Linked DNA regions of Homo sapiens: all the other regions are linked to region 1. Evidence: promoter capture Hi-C in 16 types of primary human blood cells and fetal thymus (Javierre and others, 2016). All regions are on one chromosome and are shown on one strand. Each heading gives the region's core, a stretch centred on a gene start or on the middle of the fragment in contact. The rest is flanking DNA. Distances are from core to core; before and after follow the strand shown. Region 1 holds the start of OTUD6B (OTU deubiquitinase 6B). Region 2 overlaps WWP1 (WW domain containing E3 ubiquitin protein ligase 1). Region 3 overlaps CPNE3 (copine 3). Region 4 holds the start of CFAP418-AS1 (CFAP418 antisense RNA 1).

The links. The method cuts DNA at HindIII sites, captures the fragments that hold promoters and counts their contacts. A CHiCAGO score of 5 or more calls a contact.
Region 2: a fragment that was not itself captured here is called in contact with the fragment with the promoter of OTUD6B in region 1 in 1 of 17 cell types (naive CD8 T cells); the score reaches 5.1 in naive CD8 T cells.
Region 3: a fragment that was not itself captured here is called in contact with the fragment with the promoter of OTUD6B in region 1 in 4 of 17 cell types (non-activated CD4 T cells, activated CD4 T cells, total CD4 T cells and 1 more); the score reaches 6.5 in non-activated CD4 T cells.
Region 4: a contact is called between the fragment with the promoter of CFAP418-AS1 here and the fragment with the promoter of OTUD6B in region 1, in 1 of 17 cell types (activated CD4 T cells). The highest score is 5.7, in activated CD4 T cells.

What each region holds. Positions count from the first base shown.
Region 1 is chr8:91,066,767-91,073,866 of GRCh38, forward strand. It overlaps OTUD6B (OTU deubiquitinase 6B), which reads left to right and starts at 3,578. Exons shown (of 7, transcript NM_016023.5): 1 at 3,578-3,700; 2 at 4,372-4,523; 3 at 7,065-7,100. The coding sequence starts at 3,619. OTUD6B-AS1 (OTUD6B antisense RNA 1) reads right to left here and starts at 3,423. Exons shown (of 3, transcript NR_110438.1): 1 at 3,165-3,423; 2 at 2,813-3,056. RefSeq lists an enhancer at 3,626-3,805. The HindIII fragment of the contact is 11,349 bases long and covers 1-5,065 here.
Region 2 is chr8:86,345,203-86,352,302 of GRCh38, forward strand. The region is part of intron 1 of WWP1 (WW domain containing E3 ubiquitin protein ligase 1); the gene reads left to right. Among named protein-coding and RNA genes, the nearest start is that of WWP1-AS1, 4.3 kb to the left of the region's middle. The HindIII fragment of the contact is 1,760 bases long and covers 2,582-4,341 here.
Region 3 is chr8:86,518,985-86,526,084 of GRCh38, forward strand. The region is part of intron 2 of CPNE3 (copine 3); the gene reads left to right. Among named protein-coding and RNA genes, the nearest start is that of CPNE3, 8.1 kb to the left of the region's middle. RefSeq lists enhancers at 4,304-4,403, 4,424-4,473. The HindIII fragment of the contact is 1,670 bases long and covers 2,352-4,021 here.
Region 4 is chr8:95,265,206-95,272,305 of GRCh38, forward strand. CFAP418-AS1 (CFAP418 antisense RNA 1) reads left to right here and starts at 3,631. Exons shown (of 4, transcript NR_038209.1): 1 at 3,631-3,685. It overlaps CFAP418 (cilia and flagella associated protein 418), which reads right to left and starts at 3,996. Exons shown (of 6, transcript NM_177965.4): 1 at 3,830-3,996. The coding sequence starts at 3,984. It overlaps TRS-AGA2-5 (tRNA-Ser (anticodon AGA) 2-5), which reads right to left and starts at 4,533; the gene lies at 4,452-4,533. RefSeq lists enhancers at 3,588-4,027, 3,982-4,621, 4,658-4,737. The HindIII fragment of the contact is 4,678 bases long and covers 837-5,514 here.

The DNA.
Region 1 (7,100 bases), core at 2,328-4,827:
AGCTGCCACACAGATATAAGTACTATTAATGTTTTGGCAACATCCAAATATTTTTTTCTACATATATTCTGGATAGCATTTACTGAGCATTCACAATGTATAATGCACTGTGCTGAGAAGTCTTGTAAATATGTAAGATTTTATAATCTAATACTATGCTGCTATTGACCTGAGATACTGCATTTCTAACAAGTTTCCAGGTAATGCCAATGCTGTTTTTCTGAAGGCCATACTTTTCAATAAAAGTGTTGTACATTAAAATATTGTTATATGGAGGTCTGTGAAGGGGAAACAGTGCAGGGAGGGGAAAGAAAAAAGGAGACTTGGGCTTTCCTTTCCTTGAGAATCAATTGTCAGATGCTCAGAATTCATTATGCTACATTAAAGCTCAATTGGGAGAAATAAGTAAATTGTGGTCTCATAACATATTGGGGATAAATCCACTATGAAGGCAGACTACTTCCTCATTTGAAAGGTAGCAAAATTGAAGAACTTTAGTTACTGAGTCCTTCCCATGCATATTCCATTCTTCACTTAGTGTTTTAATTCCTGTTTCTTGCCTTTTCTACATCCATCCCATAGCATGTAAAGTATAATTATCTTCATTGTTGTATTTCCTAAATCATCAGTATTTGTTATAATTTCCTCTTTGACCGAAAGATTATTTAAGAACATTAAAAAAATTCCAAGTGTGTGATTTTTCAGGGTTGAAAATTATTATTTTCTAGGGTTTTTTTTTTTTTGTAATGTGGTCACGAGTGCTTTCTAGAAATATGTTAAAGTTTTCTCTACATTTGAGTATAAAATCATTTAGAAATGCTTCAGGATAATTTGAAGAGAATGCAAAAATAAGGTAGAAAAGTAATATATATATTACACACATATTTTAACTATTTAACTACCTTTTATCTCTTAACTTCCCATTTACTTGATTTATCAAAAGCTGTAACTGCGCTGGGTTGGTGGCTCACATTTGTAATCTTAGTGCTTTGGGAGGCCGAGGCAGGAGGATTACTTGAGCCTAGGAGTTGGGAGACTGCAGTGAGCTATGATGTTGCCACTGCATTCCACCCTAGGCTACAAAGCAAGACCCTCTTGTCTCTAAAAAAAGAAATCATAAATGTTGAAGTCATAGTCCAACATATTTTTTTGCTATATTCTCTTTAATAATACATACAGAAGGATTACTCAATAAATTTTAAATACATAAAATGCAACAATTTAAATGTACATGTTTTTAAATAGATGTATATCGATGTACATAAGTAAAACTATCACCCACATCAAGATCTGGAACATATATTTTATATATTAATGTCATATTATTTACCATATAGTTTGTTAAATGTTACATCCTATATTGTATGTTTTACATAAAATGTCTTATGTTTAGATTTTAAGAAAAATGTTGCCATTTCTATGATTTATAGTTTCCATTATCTTTAAACTCTTTGATCATTTGTTTTATACAAATGTATCTCAGGTTAGAGATTGATTTTTGACCCAATTTCAATTGTAATAGGGCTATTTAACCAGTTTATAGGTCATCTGTACTGTCAATCTACTTTTTGCTAATTTTAGTGTCTTTTTGCTATTTTTCTTTTTACCACTTCTTTTCCAAACATTGGAATGTATATATTCTATTTTTGTAGTTAACACTTATTTCCATGTCAAATTTACTTGGAACTATATGATTTACTTGGAACTATATGATGCAGTAACTACTGTTTTTCCCCATGCATCATGTACAGAAAATGAGGATGTATCCACCCCCTCCCAAACCAGTGATTTGGAAGTTTCTTTACAGTATCAGTAGTAACATGGACAAACTTGTTATTTTTTTCCTGCTATACTTAAAAATAAGGGAAATAAAACTGTACTGTTTTCCAATTGTCAGATTTGACATTTAGAATGTTATTTGTCAAATCTACAGTGACAAAGCCCTTTTACTTAGGTTTAGCTTAAGAACATGCGTATTTGTATCTACAATACTACATGCTAAAAATAAAACAGTATTTGTCCAATATATTGAACATGTGGTATGCCCTTCCAGTTTAAACGTAAACTGAAATTTTACACCCAGCTTATGTTTCTATTTTTGTATTTAGTTTTAATGCCCTATACATAACAATTTAAACTTAATGCTCCTTAACTAGTTTTAATGCATACCATCAGTTCTTTCATACAATTGCCTCCCTATTCTTATTTTAATTCAGGTTCTCTGTTAGCTGCAGTAAATCCTTCAGCAAAATTTTCAGGGAAAGTTCTTGGTTGATATACTTTCCTAACCCCTGTATATCTAAGAATGTCTTCCAGTTTCCTTTGTAAAGAAATGATAACTTGGCAGAGTATATAATTCTTGGCTCAAAATTATTTTCCCTTAACACTCTAGATATTGTTCCACTGTCTTCTGGCATTTAGAATTGCAGGAGAAAAATCTGAGGTCAGCCTGACTTTTGCCCCTTTGTAAGTAACCTGCTTTCTCTGACTGGATGCTTGTAAAATGTTTCGTCTTTGAAATTCAAAAACGTCACCCGGATATGTCTAGATGCTGCTTTCTTTTCATTAAACTTTAAAGGTATCCTATGAGCCTTTTCCATTTGTAGATCTAGTTCGTTCTTCAATTCTGGAAAATTTTTTCAAGTAGATCCTTTATTGTTTCAGCTCCACTTGCTCTGTCCTCAGTTTCAGGTATTCCTATTATGCATAGATTGTATCTCCTGGACCGGCCCTCTAGATCTCTCTTTTTCTCCTCTTAATTTCTTTTCCCCTTTTCTCTGTATTCTGTGACAATTTGTCGTTTTGCACTTACTTCAGTAATTCGATTTTGTGGCCAATCCAGCGTGCGCCCTTCTGTTAACTCTCTCAACTTCCTGGTATTTTCCAAGCGCTCTAATAGTACCCTCTTTATCATCGCGCATAGGTGTTTAAGCTCCTGTATTATATGATTCTCAATCCTTCTTATATCTTGTTTCCATCTCTATATCCGTTTCAAGAGGAGGCATTTTCTCGATTATTTAGCGCTGCTCCTTTTTTCTCAGGGGCGGTATTACGACCTTGGAGACAATAAACATAATTTAATTCCACACAGCCCCAAACAGCCCAAAGATTCCCATTGATAATTATCGACGGCTTTATTAAAATGCGTTATTTTTCTTTCTTACCTTTTCAGTTGCTTTTCTTAGAAACAGGGACCAAAATCAAAGATTAAAGAGGTCCTCTGAAGCAGGGAATGAAATAGACGTTGAAAACTATTCCCGTTACGCCATCTCTGCGCGCCTCACGTCAGGGCCAAGAGCCTAGCGCGTAGCTTTATGGCTGACTCGGCTCTGGCGCTCTAGCCAATTCCGAGGCTGCAAACTCCGCTTCTCCGCTCGCAGTCTGGTTCCTCCCCTGCCGCCCCGCCCATCACGGCAGGGTCACGGTAGCGCGCACGCGCAGCACCCCATTTAAGTTTCTCGTCTTTGCAGTGGCTTTGCTTAGATCCGGTGCCGCCTTGAAGGCGGGGCTGGGTCCCAGCCGTAGCCAATGGAGCCCCGGGTGAGGGTTGAGGGGTGGAAGGTGCCTACTAGCCGGTGCAGGTTTCTTCTAGCGCGTGTGCTGGGGTACCTGGTCGTCATGGAGGCGGTATTGACCGAAGAGCTTGATGAGGAAGAGCAGCTGCTGAGAAGGCATCGCAAAGAGAAGAAGGAGTTGCAAGGTGAGGCGGAAGGAAGTGGGAATCTGGAAGCCGCCGCGACTGGGGGAAGGGCGCGTGGCGGGTCGATTCTGGGGAATCTCAAGGCGTGACTTATCTGGATCACCCTAGACTTCCCCTAGTAGCAAGTGGCCTCTTCTCTCTTCACCTACCCCGGCGGCCCTTTAATTCCCCAACCTTCAGAGGCTTCCCCTTCTGAGGCCTGCGGCGTGCCCCCTACCCCGCGCCGCCGCCGGGGTGCAGGTGTCTGAAAATACCTAGAAGCCGCCGTCTTGGTCCGCTCCCAAACCCACGATGCCTCCCTTTTCTATACCTGCCCCAGTTACCGATACTTGTCCCTAATGGGTGTATTTTGAATGGACCCGCCTCAGTTTAGGAGGTTCAGAAAGGATACCGGAAAGATTTAAAACTGGCTACAGTCAGGTTTTTTTCCTTCTCTTATCTCGCCAAACAACCGAAACATATTCAAGATTTTGTTAATGAAGTTTTTTTTTTTTTTGGTCTCAGCTTTATCTGGGATCTTCTCTCTCTGTAGCTGCCTGTTACGTGATGACTCTTTCTTCCATAATTACTTTTTCTGTACCCTTCGCCCGTTACCATCCCCTTATTGGTTCCTGTTTCTCATCTCCTTTTACTCCTGCGTGTCTGACTTAATGATTTTAATGGCTTTTCAGCCAAAATTCAGGGCATGAAGAATGCTGTTCCCAAGAATGACAAGAAGAGGAGGAAGCAACTCACCGAAGATGTGGCCAAGTTGGAAAAAGAAATGGAACAGAAACATAGAGAGGAACTGGAGCAATTGAAGCTGACTACTAAGGAGAATAAGGTATGTGAAATAAATGTTTGTCGTTGCCTACACCATTTGAAAACAGCTGTCCACTTCTGTTAAATGTTAAACTGCTTTTTTTTTTTTTTTTGAGACGGTGTCTCGCTTTGCAAAACACGCTCAATCTTGGCTCACTGCAAGCTCCGCCTCCCGGGTTCAGGCCATTCTCCTGCCTCAGCCTCCCGAGTAGCTGGTACTACGGGCGCCCGCCACTACGCCCGGCTAATTTTTTGTATTTTTAGTAGAGACAGGGTTTCACCATGTTAGCCAAGACGGTGTCGATCTCCTGACCTTGTGATCCACCCGCCTCGGCCTCCCAAAGTGCTGGGATTACAGGCGTGAGCCACCGTGCCCGGCCCTGTTAAACTGTTTATTATCTAAAATCATAAAATTGGTAGGGAAATGAAATCACTTAGTTATGCTCATGCATCACTTCTCATTAATGTTTTTGTGACCAAGTTTACAGGGCAGTGTGTTTCTATAAGGGAGATCGGCAAAGAAAGTGCTATACTTCTTTACCTATTTACTTGCCCAAAAGATGAAGCTTCACCAAATCAAAGTTGGAAGACCAGGCATCTGATCCCAGAATTGCGACTGAATGGGATTGTAACCTGAGCAAGGTTACTTAATCTTTCTGAGCTCAAATTTTCCCACATATATAATACGATACAAATATTTCTACACTCTAAGCACAGGTTTTTGTAAGAATCAAGAAAGTGAACGTGAAGTCATTTTTGTTATAAAAGTGCTTTATTAACAAGTTGTAATGAATGAAATTTTACTGATGTTTCTTGGGTAAGTTGGAGCATCCTAACTTTCATAATTTTAACTAATATTTATTTTATCGTTGGATCTAATATATATGTGTCAAATACTTTGGTTTATATGTATTATCTCATTTAACCTCAGTAACACACTGTGAGGTATTACCTATGAAGTAAGTATACATAATCCCATTTTTCAAGTGGGAAACAGGGTTAGAGAGATTAAGAACTTTGTCCAGGAGTCGTAACAGCTGTTGATTGCCAAAGCCAGAATTCCAAATGAGAACTATCTTACTCCAGGAAGTGAATACTGAATTCTGTTACAGCTTTGTATAGTGTGGTATTTATTGTATGGGTTTTGGATATGAAGGGTCATATAGACCCCACAACCTCACTCCATCTTTGATAGAAAGTTCTTATGTCTATGTAAAATCTTAATCTGCCATACTTAAATTTTGGTTGATTTTTGGTTTGCTGTTGACAAGTACAGCTTGTCTGTGCTTTTTATAATGGTCCTTACATTAAATATAGTCTAAATTTCTTTAACTTTGTTAGTTATCAAGTTCCCAACTTTCCTTGCCTTTAATGTACTTCATCTCCAGGTAACAAGGCATATATGATACTCCAGGCGTTAAATTGTGTTGTGACAATTGTGTTCCTAATTGTCTCCCCATCTTTTCTATTAATGAGATAGTTTTGTTTGCTCCCTCAGACCTTTCCATTTTGAGGTTTCTTTCCCAGGTTTCCAAGGACAAAAATGTTTGATTCATAAGCTACATGGAGTCCTACTGTTAAAACACAAACTCCCATTTTAGTTTGAACTATTTATCTGTTTCATTAATTTAAATTGGTTTTCTTTTCTGAATACTACCAAAAACTAATGCCATTGCTTTTTTGTTTTTCAGATGCATCTCTTTTATCTTGCCTATTGTCAATATAGATGTTTGTAAATTTTAACAGCTTCCTCTGAAGAATCACAGGACTCCTAATTTCACTATAGTTGATAGCCACTCTTTGAAGTCTCTATCTGATTTTGATATTTTGATCATTTGGGACACAGCCTTTGCAGACTTCTGTCTCTGTGTATTAAAGGCCTTGAGTTGTTCTATGCATGTGTTATACTAAAAACTGGCTTACCTTAGAGTTGCAGTAATAATGGCTACTCATCCTTATAGTTAAAAGTCTAGCATCTTTTTTTTTACTCTAGCAAACACACACTAGCCATTTAGGATTGATTATAATATCAAATGATATTACAAATTAAATATATTTTCTGCCTGCAGTTATCAGTTTGTAGATGGAAAAGGGTAGGGTAGGAAAAGCTCAACTTGCTACTAGGGTCAAGGATTAGTACTCATCAGGTTCTGGCTAATTAAGATGGAAAAAGGCCTCTGCTGCCAGTAGAGGTTATGCAGGTAATAATGAACTGAGCCAGCACAGGACCTTTATCTTATATGTACTGGCAGTAGTCAGAGAAAAGAAGAGTGGAGTGCTAAATGAGTTGGCGCTTACAGGAAGTACAGTACTGCATTTAGATTAATGGAGTAGGCATTCTAAGAAGGAAGGAAAGCATGCAGGGATGAGCATGATCTTTGAAAGAAACTTCTTGGGAACTTGTCAAATTCTTCCATAAAAATAGAAACAGGAGACAAAACCATATTATCTAATACAGTGTCTATTGCTGTTACTCAAATTTGAAATGTGGGATTAGATATATTTATGATTTTCAGTAATTTAATAAGTACATTGACTTGTTAATGCTTTTTGTTTCCTTCAGATAGATTCTGTTGCTGTTAACATTTCAAACTTGGTG
Region 2 (7,100 bases), core at 2,212-4,711, 4.7 Mb before region 1:
ACAGTGGTACCATTTTGAGCAAGATCATGAAGCTTTACCCTCAGCATATGTGTGCTACTTTACAACTTTTTGGAGATTACTAATTCTTGGTAAAATGCTGGCCTGGAAAATTTCCATATGCGCCTATGCTTTGTGGATATAATTTTAGGGGAGTCCATGGAACACCTGAAAGTCATCCATGACACTCATCTCAGAATTTCTTGGAGCTTTTTTTATTTTCGAGGCAGGATTTCTTTCACTCCTGTCCCTGTGGCTGGAGTGCAGTGGCGCCTTCTGGGCTCATTGCAACCTCCGCCTCCCAGGCTCAAGAGATTCTCCTGCCTCAGTCTCCCGAATAGCTTGAACTACAGGCGCTTGCCACCACACCCGGCTAATTTTTGTATTTTTTTTTTAGAGATGGGGTCTCACTATTTTGCCCAGGCTCGTGTTGAACTCCTGAGCTCAAGTGATCAGCTTGCCTTGGCCTTCCTAAGTGCTGGGATTACAGCGTAAGCCACCCTGCCGGGCCTACTGGGAGCTTTTTAAAACAGTAGAACCTTCAGGTTCTTCTGTGTACTGATAAGAACTCTTACTGTAGAGATATGCTGTATATATACAGAAACACAATATTACATTTGTGTTGTGGTTTACAGTTTACAGAGAATTTTGACTAATGTTATTTGCTATTATATTACACAATAAACTATTCCTGGAGTTTAAATGATTTGCCTGAAGCATCATTCAGCTGGTGGGTAAAGTGGAATCAGGAGATTGTTGACAATGATGGTGTTCTTTCATGTATGAAGATAATGCAGTGGCTTTACCATCAATTAAATATAGTTACTGCCTTTAAATGACCTTGTCAGTAAGACTAGATGATCCCACAAGATTCCTTCTAGTTTTTAACATTTTGTGATTCTCGAGTCCTAGACTTTCATCAGAGTATCTACTCTCCTTGTTTAATATGTGCATGAGAGCTGGTGAGTCTGAGGGATGAATTGGGTAGAGAAGAGCAGTTAGCAATATCAGATCATTCATTTGGATTGTTACTTTCTTTGTATGTCTCACTTTGGGCTGGGGAGTAGGGAGGAGAGAGGTGATGTAAGTGAAATAAGAAACTTTAAGAACTTTATTGGGAGGCTGAGGCAGGAGGATGGTGTGAACCCGGGAGGCGGAGCTTGTAGTGAGCCGAGATTGCGCCACTACACTCCAGCCTGGGCAACAGAGCGAGACTCTGTCTCAAAAAAAAAGAACTTTATCTTCTCTGTTCATTTATACCTTCAGAATATTCTTTTCTTTCAGGAAGCCTTTATCAAATAAAAATGGAGACTTCACAATGTAAATGAAGATTCCTACTCAATTTTTTTTGGGTGGATTAAGTAGCTAGCTAGTACGGTTAAAGTGTAGTGCGATTGGTAAACAGTTGACTTTTCTGCACCTGTAAGATTATCTCCCTGGTAATAGGTAATCATAGCATGTTATTACATGTTAATAAACTTTGATTTCATAATTATTAGAAAGACTGTTGTTTTTTACTCTTTGTATAAAAATATGATACAATTATAATGAGCATTGGAAAATCCAATAAATTGCCCTTTATAGTGGTATCCAAGGAACTAGTTACTAATACTTAATGGAGGAAAAATGATAAAAACATACACAGATGAATTTTATTGTTTTTGCTGGCATTAAGAATTGTACTATACCTTATGTTAGTATAGCATTTCACATTTGTAAATAATAACTATATTTATCATTTGGTTCTCATGACAACTGATAAGTTGGTGTGTTAGGAAGTAATAACTGCTTTATATTTTATTTTATTTTATTTTATTTATTTATTTTTGAGACAGGGTCTTGCTCTGTTGCCCAGGCTGGAGTTCAGTGGCACAGTCATGGCTAAACTGAAGCCTAGACCTCAGCCTCCCAAGTACTTGGGACTACAGGTGTATGTCATGACACCCAGCTAAATTTTTAAAATTTTTTATAGAGATGGGGTCTTGCTGTGTTTCCTCAGGCTGGCCTCGAACTCCTGGACTCGTGGCCCTCCCACCATGGCCTTCCAAAGTGCTGGAATTACAGGCGTGAGCCATCGCTTCCAGCCAATCATTGCTTTTTGGATGAATATGCTGAGGCTAAAAAAAAAGTTTAAAAAGTTAAATTTCCAAAGTATGTGGCTAGTTAGTGGCCACAATTAGAACTACAACTAAAACCCTTATTTTTGTTCCTATGTCAGTATTCTTTTCCCACCAGACTTCTTACTCTTCATGTACAATGGAACATCATTAGTTAAGAGCTGTATGTGAAGGATTTGAATTTACCTGTTTGGAATGTGTTAAACTTTTGTACCGTGTAGAGGTAAACTTGTCAGTTTTTTCCTTTGTGTTAAAATGGTAATCTCACTGCAGTGGCTATTGGTAGGTGATATTTAAATTTGTAAGCATTGTACCACAGAATAGTTATTCTCCTGTCAAGGATAAAGCAAAAGTTGATTTCTTATCTGGAAAAGTACATTGGTGAAATGTAGATATTTATTTTTTTGAAAATTTTGAATTTAATTCTGTTGCTTTTACAGATGAAGTTTGTGTTTCCCTTTTATAAAAGCTTAGTCTTCAAAAATTTACATTTTTTGAGGATATAAATGAGGATCTAATTTCCAAAATATATATAGATTGGGTATCCCTAATTCAAAGTTTGAAATGCTCCAAAATGGGAAACTTTGAGCCACCTACATTACTCAACAGAAACATTCACTGGAGTATTTCAGATTTTGGATATTTGGATTAGGGATACTCAACCTGTATCATGATATTTTATTATTTTTGTATTAGATCATAAGCTCTACCATTGAAAAAAACCCAAAGATATTAAAAAGCCCTCCTTAGTGGATGCTTCAATTCATACATTTAAACAACTTTTTTAGGGAATGTATAATGTAAAACCATACGTCAGATGGTTTTTAAGTTATAAGGAAGACTAGCATGGTTTTTAAGTTATAAGGAAGAGTAGCATTTGTTGATTTAGTCTTGACATTTCTTTTTTCTTTTTTTTTTTGAGACGGAGTTTCCCTCTTGCTGCCCAGGCTGGAGTGCAATGGCGCAATCTTGGCTCACTGCAGCTTCCGCCTCCTGGGTTCAAGAGATTCTCCTGCCTCAGCCTCCCAAGTAGTTGGGATTGCAGGCATGCACCACCACACCTGGCTAATTTTGTATTTTTAGTAGAGACGGGGTTTCTCCATGTTGGTCAGGCTGGTCTTGAACTCCAGACCACAGGTGATCTGCCCGCCTCAGCCTCCCAAAGTATTGGGATTACAGGCATGAGCCACCACGCCTGGCCGTCTTGACATTTCTTAAATCTACAGTTCACTCACAGCACATACTGGCGTACCTACTATGTGCCAGACATATTTCTAGGTGCTGGGAGTACAGTGTTGAGATGACAGATATGAAGCCTTTCCTCTTGGAACCTGGAGTTTAGTGGAATCACTAACATTAACAAGGGCATAGAACTTTATCTTCTCAGGTTGTAATTTTGCGGAGTGTAATTAATTATACCTCTCCTTTTTCTGGGGTTTGAACAAATTATGCAGAACACACAAGGAACCAGGTGAGTGTTGTTTCAGTTATGTACTGCTGTGTAGCAAACAGCCCTAAACCAAGTGACTTAAAACAACCATTTTCTTTGTTACAGTTTTGCTTTCCTGGGTTGGGCTCAGTTGGGCAGGTTTTGCTGGTGATCACTCTAATGGCTGCTTTTCTCTCCAAGTAGCCTTTCCAGCAGAGTTGCTGGCCTTACCTGGTAGCTGATGGCTTAGGGCTCACAAGAGTACAAAACAGAAGCAACCAGATCTTTTTTTTTGAGAGGGAGTCTCACTCTGTCACCCAGGCTGGAGTGCAGTGGCTCAGTCTTGGCTCACTGCAACCTCCACCTCCCAGGTTCAAGCAATTCTCCTGCCTCAGCTTCCCGAGTAGCTGGGATTACAGGCGTGCACCACCATGCCCAGCTAATTTTTGTATTAGTAGAGATGGGGTTTCACCATGTTGGACAGGCTAGTCTGGAACTCCTGAGCTCAGGTGATCTGTCCGCCTCGGCCTCCCAGAGTGCTGGGATTACAGGCGTGAGCCACCGTGCCTGGTCTGCAACCAGATCTTCTTAAGGTTTAGACTTGTAAGGGATACAGTATCATTTCTGCCTTATTATACTGGTTAAAGCAAGTCACAAATCTAGCCCAGGTTCAAGGGTACAAATGTGTGAATCCATTTGGGGCCACCCATGTAACAGATTACCATAAATTTTATTTAAGTATAACATCAGCTTTACTATACCAAAACAGGACTTACGGAAAACTGTTTTGGAAGCTGAAGCTTAGGCAGCTTACTACTTTCCGCAAATCTGGATTTTGAGTCTGAGCATGCCACAGGGAAAGCTGAGTCTAAAAAGTGCAAATGACAGCACATCTGGCTTACTACGCAAATGGGAATACCTAGCACTCTCCTTGGTTAGAAAAGAGGAGAACATTTGTGGCCTCTGAGGTTTTTCCTAGTGTGCCACCATAATAGGGTAGGATTGACTTGCCTTCTGCTTGAGGGCAGTGGGATCTAACAAAGTACAGGACCCAAGAGTCCATGCTGCTTGGAAGTAGTGATTTACCCGATCTCGTGAATTGGAACAGACAGCATCCCATGCAGAAAATGGGCCACAGATGGGCAGAGATCGATTCCCTCTGCCCTTGTGATTGGATTTGAGACCTAGGGGAGAAGGGTTTCTTGACTATCACTCTGGCCTTGACCAGAGTGAGCAACCTGTCCCCCACGCGCTCCAAGCCCCAATGGCATTTTCTGTTTGCAGTGTCTTGAAAAAGCTTGGGATAAGCTACTCTTCCTTGGAGAGGTGTCATTATAGTGGAGAGAATTCTCTTTCCTTCTAGAGACTGGAATGGTAATCCTCTCTTATGGAAATACAATGAATAAGGTGCTGCTTCTCCTTTCCAAGAACAGGTAGATTCATTGATTGCTATCTGGGTTTTTCTCGCATTATCACTTAACCTTATCCACTATCGCTTTATTTTAGTCTTAGCAGTATTTTTTGTTTGTTTGTTTTTAGTTCAAGTTGGCTGCTAAGTAATGCCATGGTTAAAGGTGAAATGAAGAAAATGAGTGTTTAGTTTTTATTACATTATAGCTTCTGAGTGGAGTAGTGAATGCATTTCATTTTAAGAATTTAGGTTATTAGTGCATAGCTGCGAAGCATTTTTGAAGCATTTCATGTACACTAAAAAACGGGCCCCTGCATCCTAATGCAAATCTCTTTGCAAATTTCTGAAAATAGTACATTGGCTGTTGCGGGGAGGAGTTTGGTAATTGGATGTACTGAGAAACATGATTTATAGAAATAGGAAAGGCCAGGGCACAAAGAAGGGCACGGATAGAGTTACATGAAGGTGCTTCTTGATGGCTGTCCTCCCTACCCTAAATTATTTGGGTAGTTAAAAAATATCCTAGCATTAACAGAATGTAGGTATGATAGCCTTTTAGGAAACAAGGAAAACAAGTTCTTTTGATAGCTGTTCAGTATACTCATAAATCTGATTGACTGGGCTGGGTGGAAGCTGACTGTTGAGTCCTGACTTGAAATTAGGATACTGTGGTTACACATTAGCCCCAACTTGCCAAGATGTCCTACTTTTTGTCTGTGTTTAGTTAGACTGGGGAGGAGAATTAGTTAAATGAACCTGTTTTGTATAAAGTAGGATATTCTTTACCTTAGAAGTAAACAAACTAGATTGTTCTTCTCTTTTTAAGTTTTTAACGGTAGAGGCACTTTTGGCATACAGGTTAAGAGTCACAGTTTAAAGTCAGGCAGACCTGACTTCTGGTAGTATTGCTTAATGGCAGGATTGCCTCAGTTTCTTCTTTTGTAAAATGTAAAGAATACCATCCTTAATGGATTTTTGTAAGGATTAATTGAAATAATGTTTATAAAGCAGAAAGCATGGTGGCTAGAACGTAAGCCCTTAAATCATGTTTATTGCTCGTAATTCAGTATTATGAAGTTGAAAATTCAAACAAGTATTCACTTTGCTGTGAGCTACTCATTTCTCAAAGACAGTTCTAGCTTCGTTTTGGCATGGGCAGAGCTCCTTATCAAATTTCCACCCCCAGCTTTTTTTTGAGACAGGGTCTCCGACAGCTCTGTCTCCCAGGCTAGAGAGCAATAGTGTGATCATGGTTCATAGCAGGCTTGACCTCGGGGGCTCAAGCAATCCTCCCACCTCAGCCCCACAAGTAGCTGGGACTACAGTTACGCACTAACATGCTCAGCTAGTTTTTTTTTTTTTTTAGTAGAGATGTTGCCCAGGCTGGTCTTGAATTCCTGGGCTCAAGTGATCCCCCCTACCTCGACCTCCCATAGTGCTGGGATTTACAGGCATGAGCCACCAGGCCTGGCCAAATAAACAAAAAAAAAGTTGCTAAAAGGGTAAGCACGAAATCTGGGATACTGACTTAACATGGCTGGCAATATATCAGCTAGTGATGGTTTTGCTGTGCAGCCTGGGAACAAGAAATCATTAACACCATCATTAGATGAAATATTGTATTGACCAGTGTTTGTCAAAGCGCAATCCTTATATAACAGTCGTCTGGGATGCTTATTAAACATGTTGATTCTTGAGTATCCTTTGAGATCTCTGATATGGTCCTTGAGAGTGGAGCTTAGGGATCTTCATTTTTTGCAAATATCTCAAGAGATTTTATGCACATTAGTTTGAGAACTGTTGGTAGAAACTGAATTGGTTATTTGGGGTCCTAGTGTGCTCTGTCAGAGTTCATTTTTCTAGCTAGCTAGCTAAAATATTCCTTTTTTTTTTTTTTTTTTGAGAAAAGGTCTTGTTCTGTCACCCAAGGCTAGAGTGCAGTGGCAAGATCATGGCTCACTGCAACCTTAACCAACCTCCTGGGCTCAAACGATCCTCCCACCTTAGCCTCCCTAGTAGTTGGGAGTACAGGTGTGTGCCGCGACACCTAGCTAATTTTTTATTTTTATTTATTTATTTATTTATTTTAAGACAGAGTCTTACTGTCACCCAGGTTGGAGTGCAGTGGCGCTATCTCGGCTCACTG
Region 3 (7,100 bases), core at 1,937-4,436, 4.5 Mb before region 1:
CTGTTGAGCTCCAGCCATCTGCCTGCCTCAGCCTCCCAAAGTACTGGGATTATAAGCATCAGCCACCGTGCCTGGCCCAACCCTGCTTCTATTAATAACTTTTATTAATACCTCACTAAATGAACCTATGATGAACTGTTGAATTGATGGACTTGAAAATACAATCAGTGATACTTCCAAAATGTATATACAGTAGCCAAGGGATTAGAAAAGTGGTAAAACCTGAAACATATGTTAAGTAAACTTTGTAGCCAGTTATGAATCATGGAATAGAACAATACCAGGATTTTAGAGAAATTAATGAAGGGTCTTTAGTTGATTGCTTACTTTGTAATGATAAAGAGAAGGTAAAACTGCACCTACTTTTTATTTTTGAAGTTAGAGTGATCACACCTGTTAATTCCTGCTTTCCTCCGTTCTGCATGTCCAAGCATCAGCAATGGTATCACTATTTAGATCCTGCTCAAGATAGTTTAAGAATCTGGAAACTTTTTGAAGTGTGGCTAAAAGCTGATTTATTTTGCTGCCATGATAGATGCTAAGAGCTTAATAATGTGAGATTTCATGGATGCTAATAAAATTTATTTCCTTATTGTGCTGCATCTACTTAATAGACTGGGCCCTGTGGTTTGTTTGTTTATTTAAGTCATCTGAGCACTTAATAACAATTTTGAGCAAAGGTACCTAACTAGTGGAGAAGTTTCTAGATACATTTTTTTCAGATATAGCTTTTTTTGTTTTGTTTTGAAATGGAATTTGGCTCTTTTTGCCCAGGCTGGAGTGCAATGGCACGATCTTGGCTCACTGCAACCTCCGCCTCCCTGGTTCAAGCGATTCTCCTGCCTCAGCCTCCCATGTAGCTGGGATTACAGGTGGGCGCCATCATGCCCAGCTAATTTTGTATTTTTAGTAGAGATGGGTTTCACCATGTTGGCCAGGATGGTCTTGAACTACTGACCTCAGACCATCCGCCCGCCTCAGCCTCCCAAAGTGCTGGGATTACAGGCGTGAGCCACCGCACCTGGCCCCAGATATAGCTTTTTTGATAGAGATGGAGACTGAGTTTGGAAAACTTTATCCTTTTTCTTCCATTTCTCCTTTTTGTACTTATAAATATTCTAATGTTTTCTATTCATTTTAAAAAATCCTTTAGTACCACTTCCTAAACAAGTTCCATATTCACTGTAATTAAATTAGGGTTATAGTACATTAATGGAAAAGACCTTAAGAATTACTTAAAGAAAGGGATTGACTCAACTCTTAGGTTTAACAGCTGAAGGCTGGGCGCAGTGGCTCACGCCTGTAATCTCAGCATTTTGGGAGGCCAAGGTGGGCAGATTACAGGCGGATTACCTGAAGTCAGGAGTTCGAGACCAGCCTGGTCAACATGGTGAAACCCCGTCTCTACTAAAAATACAAAAATTAGCTGGGCGTGATGGCAGCGCCTGTAATCCCAGCAACTCAGGAGGCTGAGGCAGGAGAATCACTTGAACCCAGGAGGCGGAGGTTGCAAGTGAGCCAAGATCTCCATTGCACTCCAGCATGGGCGACAAGAGTGAAAGTCCATCTCAAAAAAAAAAAAGATTTAACAGCTGAAAAAACCTGAAGCCTGGAGAAGTTACAGCAGTTGCCCAAATGCCTGCCATTGTGGTGTGACTAACACAGAACCAGGCATTTCTTTTTTTTTTTTTTTGAGACGGAGTCTTGCTTTGTCACCCAGGCTGGAGTGCAGTGGCGCAATCTTGGCTCACTGCAACCTCTACCTCTGGGTTCAAGTGATTCTCCTGCCTCAGCCTTCCAGGTAGCTGGGACTACAGTGCACCATGCCCAACTAATTTTTGTGTTTTTAGTAGACACAGGGTTTTGCCATGTTGACCAGGCTGGTCTCAAACTCCTGACCTCAGGTGATCTGCCCAGTCCATTTCTTTTGACACCTGATCCAGTGATTCTTCCTTTTTGTTTCTTTTTTGTTTTGTTTTATGTATATTTATGCTTGACATTATTCCCTATCTTCATTTCTGGTATCCTGTGGTAGTGATTAAAAAAATACATCTGGGCATCACTTTGTTACTAAATACAGAACAAGCGTAGTTTAAATTCTTTTAATGTGAGTTTTTTACTCTCAGAGTCTGGATATTAAGTGCAGTATATTCCTGAGAATAAATGTTGCTGCTCTAAGACGATCTAATGGCACCTACACACATGGCAGACCTGTGTGTGTAGAGACACACTAGCAAGGAGAACTTGCTTTCTTAGCCTTAAGTAATTTACAATTTAATGGGTTATCTTGAAGAGGAACTGCTATGAGGTAAATAAAATATAAACCATTCCAGTTCTTCCATTCTTTGGCAAGCTTTTGTTATTCTGGTTACGTTTGTTTAAGAACCATATAACTAGTTTTAGCCTCAGTATTAACCTTGTAATTTTAAAGTTCCTATTTTATTAATTTGTGTCAGGCTGAATATTACTTTTGATATTAACAAGACTTAAGGAAATTAATAGAGAATATTGCTGTTATACTAAGTAACTATTTTTTGATATTGTTTTTAATTGAAAAATCATAATTGTTTACATCTATGGAGTTTATTTATTTTTACTAATACTATTTTTACTTGACAGCTAATTAACTATTAATTAGAGGCTTTAGTGCTCTGAAGGGATTTTGGCATAAAGGGGAAAATACCTGGGTTTATGCTGTGGTGGTGACACTTACTAGCTTTGTGATCCCATGTAAGTAATTTAACCTTTTTGAAGAAATTTATATTTTTTTCCTAATATATACTATGCATTATTTTGAAGATTAACAATGTGCTGAAAATTATCAACATATTCTGGGTCAATCAATTCAGACACTGGAGTGCCTTATATTATAGTCATACCTGTGACATATGGACCTTCCACCATGTAGTAATCATTATCCTGCCTAACTCACAGAGTTTTTGTAAGGTTCAGAAGATAATATATTATTTGGAAGCACTTTGAAAATTGTAAAAAAAAACAAAATCTGTCCAGTTGTATGGAATTATTAACTATCTTTTCTTTCCCCTTATTCTTCTACTCCCCACTTTCTTACTGTCTACCCTTGAATGTAAGGGTGAAAAAGAAATCTGGTAGTCAGTAGCAATAATACTGCAAATTCTTTTTGTAGTGGAGTATAGTTTTAATCGTCAGTAAAAGTAGAAATCTCTGGGGAGCTTCTTCAGCTCCAAGAGCACTTTGATTGTTCCCTGTCTGTACCACACAATTTTATACTCTTGTATACTATTTCTATGTATACATAGTTAGCTAAGTAGCTAAGTATTTATTTCGTTTTTGCCTCCCCCAACCCTCACTTTTGGAACACCTAGAAAGTATTCAGTAAGTAATTGTTTTATGAATGGGTCTCCCCAATTTGATTATAATGAGCTACAAGCGCTTCTGTTGCTGTATAATGTCCCTGCTGTCCTTAGCAAAATAATGGGTTTACAGTAACCTGGTAATAAATACATTTGCTAGTCTGACCTGGGAACTCTGAGGAGCATAGCAGCCTTTGGATTTACAGCCATATTACCTGACGCCCGCTGCTTTTTTTTTTTTTTTTTTTTTTTTTTTTTAGTAGGGGAACACTTATTACTATTCTGAGCAACACAATTTGAGAAACACTGCCTAGGGTGTGTTTTGCTGATGTTGCTGGGCCGGTTCCAGCTGCCCCAGGGTTGCCCTTGCTTGCTTTCAATAGCGGTCAGGCAGGATGTACTGCAGAATAGCAGTTAGTGAATCATGGTATTAGAACCAGAAAGAACTTCTGAGAATTTTTTACATTAGGCCAGTCTCTTCATTTTTCAGCTGAAGACTGAAGGAACTTTACTAAAGGGATTTGTAGATAGGCACCGACTTCTCCTTCACAATTGTTTTAGGACACATTTTGAGTCACTGACATGAGCCTGCGCTCCCCTCACCTGCGTACCTTATCTATACTCAAGGCTGACTATTTCACCAAATTAATTTTATGTAAATCCCAAAAATCATTATTGTTTCAAGAAGCTTTTCATAAGTAAGGATGAGAAAGCTGCTTTATGTCTTACTACTTAATAACAAGCCATCTATGCTGAGACAATCAATTAAAATCCCTGACTCAGTAATAAAATAATTGCTACAATTCATAGAGTGTCTATTATATGCTGAGCATGCTACAGACCTACAGTTGTCAGGGTTTTTATTAAGTTTATTTTTCTCTCTTAGCCTTATTTACATTGAAGGACTAGTGTCAGGGTTTTTTAATATCCCCATTTTATAAATTAGGAAATTGAAGTTCAGATAGACAATTTGGCAGAGGTGACACATCCAAATTAGTGATGGGAAAGAAATTTGAATGACACACGCTGACTCCAGCATTATTGCTCTTTCTGCTACAAATAACCTGTGCCAGATGTCATGCTTCAGGAAGAAGAGGAAGTGGTAAAATATGTTCGCTGCCCACAGTTCACAGTATATAGACGGAGTGATGAGCCACAAATACAAGTAACAATAGTGGAAAGAAAATAGAATCAGTGCCATAACAGCATGAGGGGTATCAGCAGGGTATCAGCAACAGCTGTATGAATGAAGTATCATTTGAAGTGTTTGTTTTGTTTTGTTTTGAGATAGAGTCTCACTCTGTCGCCCAGGCTGGAGTGCAGTGGTACCATCTCGGCTCACTGCAACCTTCACCTCCTTGGTTCAAGTGATTCTCCTGCCTCAGCCTCCCGAGTAGCTGGGATTACAGGCACCTGCCACCACACCTGGCTAATTTCTGTATATTTAGTAGAGACAGGGTTTCACCATGTTGGCCAGGCTGAGTTCTTGAACTCCTGACCTCAAGTGATCCCCCTACCTCGCCCACCCAAAGTGCTGGGATTACAGGTGTGAGCCACCGTGCCCGGCCTGAAGTGGATCTTGAAGAACTTGGGTGGGCAGAGGTAGCTGTTCAGGTAGATTAGGGGTAGATGTTGGCAGAGCCATGAATTCCAGGCTTAGTTCATTGGACTATCACTTTTTAATCAGAAGTGATAAAACCATAATGTGAATGGAGAGAAAATGGCAGTGGGAATACCCATTAGGAGACTATTATATAAGGCAGGTGAGAGATACAGAAGACCTGAAGTTAGGGTTGTGACTCTGGGTATGGGAAAGCGGCTGTATCTCCATGTTTGGGAGAGATTTGGGGTTCTAGTAGGCAGAATCTCTATGACATCTTTACTGGATAAATCTAAGAGTAGGTTTAAGGAGGAATGGGAAAAGAGGAAGTAGATAAGACTTCAGGATTTTCAGCCAGGGCATGGGAATGACCAGATGCCTTAAATTTCACATATCAGGTACCACTTTAAATATTAGGTCTTAATTCTCAGCTCCTTATGTTTATCTCTGTTATAATATTGATTCAGAACGTTAGGGTGACTGGGAGAATTATTGATATATTTGGTGTTTCTAGGGATTATTTGCATTTCAGAAGACGTGTTTGGATCAAATTTTGTCCAACAAGTAATAATCTGTACAGTAGGGAAGCTGTTGTCTAATCCTAGGGATTATTTGTGTTTTCTATCCTGCTCTTTAAGGAGTAAAATACTACATAGAATTCTTCTTTAGTTGCTCATGCATTCTTTGCCAGGTGACTTATCCCAGCCAAATCTTTCATACTAAAAGAGTATAAAACGTTTGTTTTATTTTTCCTCATCATAATTTTTTTTTTTTTTTTTTTTGCGACAGGGTCTTGCTCTGTCACCCAGGCTGCAGTGCATAGCTTACTGTGGCCTCGAACTCCTGAACTTGAGTGAGCCTCCTGCCTTAGCCTACTGAGTAGCTGGGACTACAGGTGCATGCCACCTTGGCTGGCTAATTTTTTCATTTTTCTTTCTTTCTTTCTTTCTTTTTTAGACGGAGTCTTGCTCTGTCGCCCAGGTTGGAATGCAATGGCGTGATCTCACTGACCGAAACCTCCGCCTCTGAGGTTCAAGTGATTCTCCTGCCTCAGCCTCCTGAGTAGCTGGGATTACAGGCATGTACCACCATGCCTGGCTAATTTTTGTGTTTTTAGTAGAGACGGGGTTTCACCAGGTTGGCCAGGCTGGTCTCAAACTCCTGACCTGGGATAATCCACCTGCCTCGGCCTCCCGAAATGCTGGGATTACAGGTGTGAGCCACTGCGCCCAGCCTAAAATTTTTTGTTTTTGTAGAGATGAGGTCTCTGTTGCTCAGGCTGGTCTTGAACTCCTGGGCTCAAGCAATCCTACTGCCTCAGCCTCCCAAAGTGCTGGGATTACAAGTATGAGCCAATATGCCCAGCTCCCATTATGATTTGTGGATAAAGTATACTATTGCTCTCTTAAAAAATTGTATATCATGTACTGGATAATTACATTAAAAGGAAATGAAAACAGTATCTTCATGAATATTACCATTAACAAGATTCCAGACCCTAGTGTTTATGTAATTTCTTCCATTTGCCATTCAGCCATAATGGGTTTCAGGATAACATTGAGACCAGCACAGAGTCATTTTTCAGAGAGGAATGCTGCTAATAGAAGAAATTTGTTTCCTGGCAGCAATGCAGTAGTATAACTGTCAGCAATTGGTTAAATAATCAGCTGTGCCTGGCATGTTGTTTTTGTAGCTTTTGTATAAGCATTTTTAGGGAAAAAAATAATGCTCTTCTGATATGTGGTGTCTCTTTGCTGTGAGACTGACTTCACATGTAGATGTCTTCATTCTCTGTTGAATTCTTCCCATCCTTGGAAATTTGAAGACTTTTCTGCTGGCTGGTAGAGAATCCTCTACATGTTTTTTTGGGGGAAGCTTTAGCTATTGTTGCTCATTCTATGTTCATCCACAGGGCACTGCATTATGCTTGATATTGCTGACATACAACTTACAAGACTCTAAACTACCTTATGCAAAAAAAAATCATACAACTCACATTTATTTTACAGATTCTGTATTAGATGCAAAAAAACAGTATGCCTGGCACGTGCCAGATTTACAAATTTACTTGCATTATCTCCATTTTTACTGATGAGGAAATCTAGGCCCAGGAAGTTGAAGTTACTTATACGTGGTCACACAGCAAGTGCCAGATGGAGGGTTCA
Region 4 (7,100 bases), core at 2,381-4,880, 4.2 Mb after region 1:
CACACCCTTCCCCAGGTGCGACAATAAAAAATGTCTCCAGACATTGCCAAATGCCCCTTGGGTGGCAAAATCATCACCAGTCTAGAGATACCGACTTAGTTTAAATTATTTAATCTCTCTGAAACTCAAATATTTTATCTATAAAAATGATATCTAGATGACTATTTAAAATTTCTTTCAGGTATAATATTCTACTTCTGGCCTCTAATCCCTCAACTATAGTGAAACTCTTCTCTCGAAGGTTTCCACTGCCCAAATCACTACAATCTAATGGTGGTTCTCAGTTCCAATCCTCTTTAATCTTTCAGAAGCATCTGACACTGTTGGGTACCAATTCCTTATATTTCTTTTTCGATAAGAGGTTGCTAAGATGTCCTCTTAAAATTCTCTCCTTTGGCTTTCAGGACATACTTTCCGGGTTCTCCTCCCTCATGCAATTTCACAATTTCAAGAATCAGATACATCCAAACTCCACCAACCTAATCAGTACTGTTACAGATCCAAATTACCAGCTTACATAAGATTCTGGTCTGTTCTTAGATCACACAATTTCAAAATGCCTACACTTGCCTATGCTTTGCTATAGTAATAACAATAAAGTCAACATTTCATTGAGAACTCATAATTTTAAAGGACTGTATAAGACTCTTTTTGGTCTTTTGATGTGACAATAATCTCAATCAAATGTTAATAAGCTTTTACTGGTTCCCTTTCTGACTCTGTTTCTGACATTCTAATCTTTTAAAGATATAGTTTCTGCTGAAAATAAAACATATATTTAAGATAAAATATAAACACTTAAACCTATAATTAAATGTGAGAGGTATTATATAGAAAGCTTAAATCTAGATCTACTATGTCCTTGTGATTTAGCAATATGACTTTAGGCAAGTAACTAAGCATTGATTTGGTCAATGAAATGGGGATAACAGTATTCACGCATGGGATTGTGAAGATTAAATGAAATAACATATACAAAGCACTTAGCATACAGAAAGAGCTCAATAAATGTTGGCTGTTATTATAGTTATCATCTAGAAAGCTATATTATCTTTAAATATTCCCATCTGTATCATCCTGAACCACTTTATTCCTATTGCAGTTCTTCTCAACCCACATCAGTCTTTTTTAATTTTTTTACTAATCACATATTTCTTTTTATCATTTTGAACACTTCAACAAATTGCATGTTTTGACCTCTTACATTAGCAGTTGTTCCTGGTATCCAGATGTAGCATGGTCATTTATAGTATTATTTGCATTTATAGTATCATTTTAAGAGGTAATATTAGTATTTTAACTCTTATAAGAGATACAGGTTACACTGCTATACAATTAGTAGGTAATCTCCTGTCAATAAATTCAAACATAAATTGCTTCCTAGCTTTTAAGTATAAATTTTGGCTCAAGGAAAAATTTTAATATATAACATTATAAACCAGGTTGGGACTATATTTGGTATAAGGTTTAGGCCCTTTGTTGCTGTTTTTTGTACAATTTACAACTACATTGCCAGATGAAAAGTTTTAATATAAATGACAACAGTACTGTTTCACTAAGGCTTTTATGTTACTTAGTACTAAAAAAATCTAATGTATTAAGGTGGGCTGAGGTACTAGAAATATTATGGATGAATTTTAGTAGAGCAAGAACAGGCATGACACAACCCATGGTTGGAGAAGATCCACATAAATAGTCCTTTCCATTTTGAGCAGCTGGCTTCAATACATCCTGCCCCTCCGCATGCTAGTTCTCCTAAGATGAACAGCTCTGAAAAGCTCCTTGATAGACTAGTTCTATCCCCTAGAAGGACAAACGAAAAGTACTAAAGAAATTGCAAAGCAACACTGTTGTGGGATAGGGATGGTAGATGCGCTAATAGATACATAAGGAATTCCAGTACACAAGATAATAAAAGTTAATGAGAGTGATATTTACAACATCCAGCCAAATGAGTGTTAGCCCATTCATAGTAATTATAGTTGTTTCTAATTTTTGTTTTAAAATGCTGCTCAGAACTCAACTAATTTTTAGAAATTTTGTTTATGTACTCCTTTAGAATTTTTTCGATGCTTTTATCTTCGCAGAGTGAATTTTTATAAATAAATGTCACTGACTGGGCACGGTGGCTCATGCCTGTAATCCCAGCACTTTGGGAGGCCGAGGTGGGTGGATCACGAGGTCAGGAGATCGAGACCATCCTGGCTAACACGGTGAAACCCCGTTTCTACCAGAAATACAAAAAATTAGCCAGGCGTGGTGGCGGGCGCCTGTAGTCTCAGCTACTCGGGAGGCTGAGGCAGGGGAATGGGAGGCGGAGCTTGCAGTGAGCTGAGGTGGGCCACTGCACTCCAGCCTGGGCGACAGAGCGAAACTCAAAAATAAATAAATAAGTAAATAAAATAAATAAATATCACTGGAGGTAAGCCAGGTGAACTGGATAGTAACAGAGTTGGATAATACTTTGGGAAATCACACATACACACACCAAAAAACCAAAACCAAACCAAAGATGCAGCAAAAAAATTAACGGAGATGACGTTCTTAGATTGATCCAAAGTTGCCTCCGTGTAATTTCACAAGCGTTTCCAAAATATTCTAGGCAAGAGGCAATTTCCAAAAGATTCTAGCAAGAGTTACTGAAGGTCAATATTCTTATGCAAACATTTTGTTTTTTTTTTTTGAGGGGTTGTGGGGGAAATGAGGAAGTGAAGGAAATCCTATTATTTAATAATTACATGGAGGAAAAACGACTGGTAAATTTGAAAGGTAGTTTTTAGATAAAAAACCAAAATACCTTAAGAAATGTCCTTAAATTTCCATATGTATGTCTGGCACCCTTAACTAGGGGGCCATGGAGAGAAGGAAGGTAGACGGTTTAATGTTCACAATAATTAACCCTTTTGTAATGAATTTAATCTCATCTTAACTCCCTGAGTTAAAAAAATAAAACAAACTGAGTCAGGTGCGATGGCTCGCAACTGTAATCCTAGCAGTTAGGGGAGGCAGAGGCGGGAGGACAGCTTGAACTCAGGAGTTCAAGACCAGCCTGGCCAACACAGTGAGACTGTCTCTACAAAAAATACAAATTAACCGGGCTCGTGCCTGTAATCCCAGTTTACGTAATCCCAGATTACAGGCTCGTGCCTGTAATCCCAGCTAGGGTAGGCCGAGGTGGGAGGATCTTTGAACCCGGGAGTTGGAGGCTGCAGTGAGCTACGATCGTGCCACTGCACTCCAACCTGGGCGACAGAGCGAGACTCCATCTCAAAAAACAAACAAAACAACAAAACTGAGCTAAAGACAAATAGGATTGACCTGGGGAGTGGGGTCTGAGGCAATGGGATGAGGCTGTCTAACAGGGCACCTCACAGGGAGATGAGAACCGCTTGGCCACACAGAGGCAAAATGCGGCCGAGGTCAGCACAGCCCTCTCGGGGTTAAGAACGGGGCGCCTGAGGGGTATCCCGGTCCCCGACTAGAACCTCCTACGCGCTGGCAGCCAGAAACAGGATGAAGGAGACTGGCGCGGACTGCGGGCTCTGCGGGCGGGGCGGGGCGGGGCGGGGCGGGGCGGGGCGGGGCGGGGGCCAGCCCTCTGGGGCATGCCGGGGGGCGGAGTCTGCGCTGAGTGAAGAGGTGCCAGAATCCGCGAAGAGGGTCGACGAATGCGCTGCCGCGGAGGGTAGGGCGCTGAGGGTCTGAACCCTGATGCAAGGAGGGGCTGGAGGTCGCGGGCACGTTTCTTTTGGGTTGGGCGGCGGAGGGGCAGCTCTAGGGCCTGGAGCAGGGCTTTACCAGAACAGTCCACCCCTCCCGCCCGGTTAACCTGAGCGTCTCTTTCGCCTTGGCTTGGTTCCGGTCGCTACTGTGGGTGCCGCCGCCGCAGCCTTTGGGCTGCTCGACCATACCCCGTCTTAGAAGGTCAGGTGTGCAAAACTTGGACTCGACTTCATCCAAGAGCTCGTCCAGGTCCTCCGCCATCTTGAATCGCCTGGCCTTTTCCCCTCCAATCGCCAAGGCTCCGGTGGTTTCCAGGAGTAACGAGGGGACCTGGCGGGCTCCTGCCCCGTTAGGCGTCCCCGCGCATGCGCACCGCTTCCCGTGGCAACCCGGCGCCCACGAGGGCTCGCGGCAGAGAACGCGGTGGGTTCGTGAGGGGCGGGCGTATGCAGGGACAGAGTTCGGAGCTGTCTCTGCAGTGTGTCTGTGTGACTCGCGATGCTTTGCGTTTCTTCCTTTCAGCATGTCTGGCGTGGTTCCTCCCGTCTCCCCCTCCCGGGCCCACGTTGTAACCACAAGCACGCATTCTCGCCCCTTCATTCTCTCCTCTCCCGTTTGGGTCCCTGTTGTGTTTCAGCCGTTTGTAAATTCCTGAAATCTGTGGAAGGTTTGAGCAGAACGCTCTAAAACACAAAAAGTAAGTGTTGACGGCAAAAAGCTGACATTCCCGTAGTCGGCAGGATTCGAACCTGCGCGGGGAGACCCCAATGGATTTCTAGTCCATCGCCTTAACCACTCGGCCACGACTACTGGCTGTGTGAATTTTTGCGGTGAGAGTGCATGTAGACTCTGCATAAGCGTCTGCTGCAGCAATAGGCACGTTTTGATGTGGAGGAAACCATTACTGAGCTGTTCTGTTAAGAGCATATTTGAATGTTACCTCGCTCATCATTTTACAGTTTGTAAAAGTCTTAGAACGTATCCCGTCCAACTCTTTGTTGGAAAAAACGGAAATTCTAATTAAATCCGAGAGAGAGAGAGAGAGAGACAGAGAGAGAGATGCGTGCTCAAAACTATTGCACACCCACTTGCTTGCACAATGTTGGAGCCATTTCCAGGAGAGAACCAGGAACCGGGTAGGGGCCAACCAGCTTCCCGACTTCCTTGTGGGGCTGCCAGTTCCACTCCTTCGCCTTTCTCTTTGACAAACGGCTCCCAGGACTATCTTTTCACCCATTATACATTAAAAAGCTATTACCCAGCGATTTAAATTCACTCTGCAGGGTCAGACAGTCCCACCGTGCCATAAAAGCACTACTTTGAAAAGTGTAAAGCGTGATACAAGTGTAAGGTATTGTAAATGGCATTCTTAATAAATACTGTGCATAGTTTAACCTGTGTTTTGGGTATTTCTAAAGTGGGGTAGCAAAGAGGTTGGCACCCTTGGGAACTCTGGAGATAGTTTGATCCAGATGATTTGTTTGTTCAAAGTATCTTTTAAGGTCCCTGAAGAGCAACATGTAGTGGTGTGCTGGAGCCAATGGGACATGCTCACTCCTACCCAGTGATAAATTTTCAAGGATTTTGGGAGCTAGTTGTTAAATGCAATTATTATTAAATATTAAATTATGCAAACTTGCAATTACATTATGTTAAAAGCAAATATGATACTCAAAATTCATATGCTAGTGATTCCACTACCTTTTACTATTATTTATAAATATAATTGAGATTGTTTACATCTGAAAGACTTTCTCTCTTTAACTTTCCATTCAGTGATGTCACTTGGGAAGCTTGAAATGAGCCATAGTGGGTGTTATTTACATGAGGGAAATTGCAAATGTGACAAAGCAGGGCTTTTTATCCCTAGGAGATGAAAGATACTTTGAACAAACAAATCATCTAGATCAAACTGTCATTTAGTAGAACACCCCATGTTACCATCAGACCAACTGTGAATATTCTCAGCAAGGCAACACTCCCCTTTTCTGCAGGGCTGCTCTATTTATTGTCTCTGAATCTTTGTTTTAGCTATTAGAATCCTGGCCTAAACACACACACACACACACACACACACACACACACAAATATGCATATAAACATATATGTATATTTACACACACAGGGGAAACTAGCATTTTTATGCAAAATACTTAACATTGAGCACTGACCACTCAGATCAGACACTGTCAGGATGCTTAAGTAGTATCCTAGAGGCACCCTGACATGTATTACCCTTGTAGTCAGAGTAGAGAACTCTAGAGGGTGGGGAGACAATGTTGGGGCAAGGAGGGGACTCGGACACTAGTTATTTGTCTAGAATCCTGGCATATTCTATGATTTCCAACTAATTAATTTTTTAAAGTTTTTTTCCAAGTTGCCTTGCTGGGCGATTTTACCTAGAACCGGTCTCTAGCAGAAAGGCAAGGAAAAGCTGCTTGAAAAAGCGGTCCTTGCAACATGGTTCCAGGGGAAGTCATAGTTAGTGGCCATCCAGTTTAACAGGCTTACATTAATGATTTGATTTTGCTCTTGAGAAGATGAAATCTGAGGGGATCTGTACCAATGTTGAAAGTATCTGTTAGCGGCCGGGCGCGGTGGCTCACGCCTGTAATCCCAGCACTTTGGGAGGCCGAGGCGGGCGGATCACGAGGTCAGGAGATGGAGACCATCCTGGCTAACACGGTGAAACCCCGTCTTTACTAAAAATACAAAAAATTAGCTGAGCGTGGTGGCGGGCGCCTGTACTGGCAGCTACTCGGGAGGTTGAGGCAGGAGAATGGCGTGAACCCGGGAGGCGGAGCTTGCAGTGAGCCAAGATCGCGCCACAGCACTCCAGCTTGGGCCACAGAGCGAGACTCCGTCTCAAAAAAAAAAAAAAAAAAAAAAAAGAATCTATTAGCGTGTAGAAGATTTGCAATGAGAGATGGTGAAAAAATAAAAGAGAAAATGTTTCTGGTTTTCTGTGTTTTGTTTTTTGTGTATATTAGAAAAAAATTAGTGTGTTCCCTCGCTCCCTCACTTCTACTCCCATTTTTCTGGTCTTTTGATTGGATAATTTATTCCGTTTACATTTTAAAATTTCATTTTATTGATTTTATTTACTTTCAGTAGCTTTTGGGGTACAAGCGGTTTTTGGTTACATGGATGAATTGTATAGTGGTGAAGTCTGAAATTTTAGTGCACCTGTCACCCGAGTAGTGTACATTATACCCAAAAGGTAGTGTTCTTTTTTTTTTTTTTTTTTTCCCAGACGGAGTTTTGCTCTTGCTGCCCAGGCTGGAGTGTGCAATGGTTTGATCTCTGCTCACCACAACCTCTGCTTCCTGGGTTCAAGTGATTCTCCTGCCTCAGCCTCCCAAGTAGCTGGGATTACA